Linked DNA regions of Homo sapiens: region 2 is linked to region 1. The links are contacts of gene promoters, found by promoter capture Hi-C in human tissues and cell types (Jung and others, 2019). All regions are on one chromosome and are shown on one strand. The core of a region is centred on a gene start or on the middle of the fragment in contact, and the rest is flanking DNA. Distances in the headings are between cores, read along the strand shown. Region 1 holds the start of AIRE (autoimmune regulator). Region 2 overlaps TRAPPC10 (trafficking protein particle complex subunit 10).

Evidence for each region. The method cuts DNA at HindIII sites, captures the fragments that hold promoters and counts their contacts. A contact is called where the count stands out against the background at its distance.
Region 2: a fragment that was not itself captured here is called in contact with the fragment with the promoter of AIRE in region 1 in 1 of the 25 tissues and cell types used here (dorsolateral prefrontal cortex).

Annotation. Positions count from the first base shown.
Region 1 is chr21:44,284,592-44,287,291 of GRCh38, forward strand. It overlaps AIRE (autoimmune regulator), which reads left to right and starts at 1,285. Exons shown (of 14, transcript NM_000383.4): 1 at 1,285-1,547; 2 at 1,966-2,140; 3 at 2,387-2,542. The coding sequence starts at 1,416. RefSeq lists enhancers at 1-162, 163-764. The HindIII fragment of the contact is 44,459 bases long and covers 1-2,700 here.
Region 2 is chr21:44,074,925-44,077,624 of GRCh38, forward strand. TRAPPC10 (trafficking protein particle complex subunit 10) reads left to right here. Exons shown (of 23, transcript NM_003274.5): 9 at 115-229; 10 at 1,628-1,704. Among named protein-coding and RNA genes, the nearest start is that of PWP2, 31 kb to the right of the region's middle. The HindIII fragment of the contact is 7,831 bases long and covers 1-2,700 here.

The DNA of each region.
Region 1 (2,700 bases), core at 35-2,534:
TGGCTGCCCAAAAGCAAACGGCACGCCTGCCCACGTGGGAATCTTGGTGGCGTCTCTCACTGCATCAGTTAGCCCCCAGCCCAGTGCTGCCTGGATTCAGGCTTCCTGGTACCTTCGTCCACCCTTCAGCCCTAATCCATGCTGGCCAGGTCATCTCGTTCTCTGGCTCAGTGGGAACACTCGTGCCCAGAGACCTCTCGTGGTTCTCTGCAGCCTGCACACAGGGCCTGCTTCCCTGGCTTGACCGCACAGACAAGGGGACTGTTACCAAGGCCTCCCACTGAGGCCACCCCCCCTCCAGGCCATGCCTGCGGGGCCACCACAGCCTCAGCATCATTGCAGGCCCCAGGCCTCTGCACCTGGTCTTGTTTTACTGGGGGCACTGTCCCCACTCACGTCCACCTGGGACCCTCGGCTCCTGTCCACTGCAGCTCCCCTCCCGGACACCTTCCCAGATGCCCCCGGAAGCTCCTGTCCAGGCCACAGCATCCCTCAGCCTCTGTCACTGGTCCTAGGAAGACCCTTTGGGAGCTCTCACTCAGGGCCACACTCAGGACCCCCGTTGTGGGGCTGGCCGCCTTCCTTCTAAAGCACCTGGAGGAAGGAAGGAGGGGGTCAATGCGAGCCTCAATCCCCAGGCGAGTGTGCCCCTTTTAAAGATGAGGGAACCGAGGCTCAGAGAAGGAAAGGACTTGCCTGGCGTCACACAGCTAGCCTAAGATGGTGAGGTCAGGAGCTCCCTGGCAACACCCAGGCTGCCGTACCGTCTCCTGCATCAGACTGAGCCTCCATCGGGCTCCTCCCACAGCCCCAGGCGGGCCCCTGAGTAGGGGCTCTCAGCTTGTGTGGAGGTCCCCCAGGAACACCACCCCGATCCAGCCTCCATGGAGGCTCTTGCCGGCCACTGGGAGGGGCCGGTGCACCCTGGGCAGCCCCTGCCAGGGCCCTGAGACCCGAGCCTCCCCGCCGAGGGCACCTGTCTCGGCTTTGCCCCATTCGAGCAGGGCCCTCGCCGAGGCAGGACAGGGCCACATTCGGAAGTGAGAGTTCTCTGAGTCCCGCACAGAGCGAGTCTCTGTCCCCAGCCCCCAAGGCAGCTGCCCTGGTGGGTGAGTCAGGCCAGGCCCGGAGACTTCCCGAGAGCGAGGGAGGGACAGCAGCGCCTCCATCACAGGGAAGTGTCCCTGCGGGAGGCCCTGGCCCTGATTGGGCGCCGGGGCGGAGCGGCCTTTGCTCTTTGCGTGGTCGCGGGGGTATAACAGCGGCGCGCGTGGCTCGCAGACCGGGGAGACGGGCGGGCGCACAGCCGGCGCGGAGGCCCCACAGCCCCGCCGGGACCCGAGGCCAAGCGAGGGGCTGCCAGTGTCCCGGGACCCACCGCGTCCGCCCCAGCCCCGGGTCCCCGCGCCCACCCCATGGCGACGGACGCGGCGCTACGCCGGCTTCTGAGGCTGCACCGCACGGAGATCGCGGTGGCCGTGGACAGCGCCTTCCCACTGCTGCACGCGCTGGCTGACCACGACGTGGTCCCCGAGGACAAGTTTCAGGTGGGCTCCCCGCCCGCCCCCCGCTGCCCCCAGGCCCTGTGAGCCAGGGATAGTCCCCGGGGAAGTTCCAGGAGGACCCCGCCCCTCCAGATCCCCAAGCCCCTCCAGCCTTCCCCAACTCCCTCCCCACAAGGAGCCAGGGGCGTCCCTGATGACAAGTTAGAAGTTGGTCCCCTTCCCCCAGCCGTCCCCACACCTCACCCCCAAGCCAAGGGAATGGCCTCCAGGTTCCCCCAGCCCCACCCTCAACACCCCTACACCACCACCTGACTCCACCACAAGCCGAGGAGATGGGCGTGGAGCTGTCCAGGTCGCCAGCGCCTCTGCCTGGGAGCTCCACCCTCTAGTCATGATGGAGATGGGCAGGCCGCAGGGTGTGGGGGACCATGGCAGGGACCCTCATGCCACCCCACTGCAGGAGACGCTTCATCTGAAGGAAAAGGAGGGCTGCCCCCAGGCCTTCCACGCCCTCCTGTCCTGGCTGCTGACCCAGGACTCCACAGCCATCCTGGACTTCTGGAGGGTGCTGTTCAAGGACTACAACCTGGAGCGCTATGGCCGGCTGCAGCCCATCCTGGACAGCTTCCCCAAAGGTGGGTCCTGGTGGACTCAGCCATGCTGGGGGCCTGGGGCAGCTGCTGTCACCTGCTCAGCCCAGCTGGACTGGAACCGGAGTGGTGTTTGAGGAGCCCGTGGGTGATGTTCCAGGACCGTCTTGGATCCTAAGAGGCAAAGGGGCCAGGCCTCACCTGTCTGGCCAAGGTGTCCAGTTCTGGGGCCCACCCTACCCCTGGAGAAAACCCTGAGGTTGGGACCCTGCTCCTGCCCCTGAGCTGCAGATGTGGACCTCAGCCAGCCCCGGAAGGGGAGGAAGCCCCCGGCCGTCCCCAAGGCTTTGGTACCGCCACCCAGACTCCCCACCAAGAGGAAGGCCTCAGAAGAGGCTCGAGCTGCCGCGCCAGCAGCCCTGACTCCAAGGGGCACCGCCAGCCCAGGTACCCTCCCTGCAGGGGAAGCCAGCCAGGGTCTCCAGTCTTCCCGGGCTTCCCCGGGAGCCCACGCCCCCTCCCCACCCGGGCTCCCACCCACTGGGTGTGGGGCCAGCCTGCCTGGGGCTGTGGGGGTCTCCTCTGGGTACTAGACCCACACACTG
Region 2 (2,700 bases), core at 199-2,698, 210 kb before region 1:
GAAAGCTAAATTTCTTCTAGAATTTAGCTGGATTTGAATTTTTATATTTAAATTCTTGAATTCCCTGCTGACTCTTACGGCAAATTAATTGAAATTGTGGATTTATCTTAACAGTTAAAGTCCTTGGGCTATCTATGTGGACTTGTGTCAGAGAAAGGACCTAACTCAGAAGATCTCAACAGGACAGTTGACCTTTTGGCAGGTTTGGGAGCTGAGCGACCAGAAACAGGTACTTTTTTGTATATACCTGTGTGAGTGGTGAGGTGGACAGTAATGAAAATGTCCTTTGCAAGTTGGCACATTTAACCGAAGTTCTAAGAGTAATCATATTACTCACCATTTGGAAAATTATACCCATTGTTAGCTGACTGGATTAAAGCACATGATAGTTTACCTTTTAACAGCATAATGCAATATTAGAAATAGTTGAAGAAATTGGAAGGAGTTTCAGAAATGTAGCTGAGTTTCTCCTGGGCTTAAGGGACTTTATAGCTCATGTTCAAATGCACCACTGTCTCTCTGAATTACAGATGATCTGTTTTTCTAACAATACGACCTGACGATTTTTTTTTTTTTTAAGAGACAGGGTCTCACTCTGTTGCCCAGACTGGAGTGTAGTGGCACAATCTTGGCTCACTGCAGCCTCGACCTCCTGGGCTCAAGGGATCCTCTTGCCTCACCCTCCCAGGTAGCTGGGACTACAGGTGTGTGCTACCATACTTGGCTAATTTTTTAATTTTTTGTAGAGATGGAGTCTCGCTGTATTGCCCAGGCTGGTCTCAAACTCCTGGCCTAAAGTGATCCTCCTGCCCTGGCCTCCCAGCAAATTTTTTAAAATAAATTGGCTGGGCACGGTGGCTCCCACCTGTAATCCCAGCACTTTGGGAGGCCGAGGTGGGCGGATCACCTGAGGTCAGGAATTCGAGACCAGCCTGACCAACATGGAGAAACCCCATCTCTACTAAAAATACAAAATTAGCCGGGTGTGGTGGTGCATGCCTGTAATCCCAGCTATTCGGGAGGCTGAGGCAGGAGAATCGCTTGAACCTGGGAGGTGGAGGTTGTGGTGAACAAAGATTGCTCCATTGCACTCCAGCCTGGGCAACAAGAGCAAAACTCTGTCAAAAAAAAAAAAAAATTCTCCTGGATAATAAGGCTCTTTGAAAGGAGGATTACTCATTGTTTTACGTAGGAATATATGATGAGTATTATTTAGCAAGACTGTTGCTAAAGAATATCTGATGAGCTGAAAACATTCTTAGTAAATTGAATAAATGTTTAAGGGAAAAAATACGTAGTATTTATATTTCATTGTTTCAACTTGAGACCATTTCAGATCACTTCGGAAGTAATTTAATTCATCGGAGTATTTGTAATATATGTTTCTAAAAAAGTTTAGTTCTAAAGATCAGAGAAAAAGCATGACACAAAGCGTTTTGACTATTTTATGAATATGTGAATTGAAAGAGAATGTACATAATCATGTAGTTTCCGTTGGCATTGGCCGGTTTGTAATTTCACAAGAGTCAGATGAGGTCATCTACCTGCAGTATGTGAAGGTGAATGTAAAGTCATGTGACTGGACATGATGAAGATGAAGAGGGACTCTCGTTTCTTTCTGTTTAAGCCAACACAGCTCAGAGTCCTTATAAGAAACTGAAAGAAGCATTATCGTCAGTGGAAGCTTTTGAAAAACACTACTTAGTAAGTATTAACAAGTGTTCAATGTCTGTTCTGTGAATACCTGTCTCTAGAAGGCTTTGCTACATGGCCTGTTGAGTTGGGAAGGAACTGGTGTGGGGGGCCCCTTCTTGTTGGTTTTTTTTAGTTTCTTTGGTACCTGGGGAGTTGTGGACAAAACATGGAGTAGTTCATCAAATGTGTATTAGTGCCCATGGTACCATGCTAGGCATGGAATCATCTTTGAATATTTACCGTTTTGTTCAAATTGGGTTTGCTCACACAGAAATTATAAGAGAGGCTAGTGAATACTTTTCTTTGTAAAAAGGAGTAATTTGGACTTGGGCAGAGCTATTGTATTTGATTTTGAAAGACTTAAATTAGCAAAACTTTAAAAAACGGCGTAGGCAGAAGTGTGGTGGGTCAGCGTCATTCCCGGGTCATGGGCAACTTGAGCGTTTGGTCTGCCCGTAATGGCTGTACCTCTTATACACACAAGTATGAAAAATACCCAGCATGTCACCCACGTGCAGAAAGTCCTTGGAAAAGTTAGATGTTTTGGATGAGTTTGTGGGTTTCTTTTATTATTATGCTTCATAATTTATACACAGGTTACCAATTTTGCTTATATATTACAGAAAAATTCACAAAAATAGATGCAAAGGAAAAAATAATGTTACATTATTAGCAATGTCTTCTGCGGGCTGGGCATGGTGGCTCACGCCTGTAATTCAGCACTTTGGGAGGCTGAGGCAGGTGGATCACTTGAGGTCAGGAGTTTGAGACCAGCCTAGCCAACATGGTGAAATCCTGTCTCTGCTAAAGATACAAAAAATTAGCCGGGCCTGGTGGCGCCTGTAGTCCCAGCTACTTGGGAAGCTGAGGCACAAGAATCACTTCAACCTATGAGGCGGAGGTTGCAGTGAGCTGAGATCTCACCGCTGTGCTCCAGCCTGGGCGATGGAGCAAGACTCTGTCTCAAAACAAAAACCCAACAATGTCTTTTGTGTGAGCTTTAGG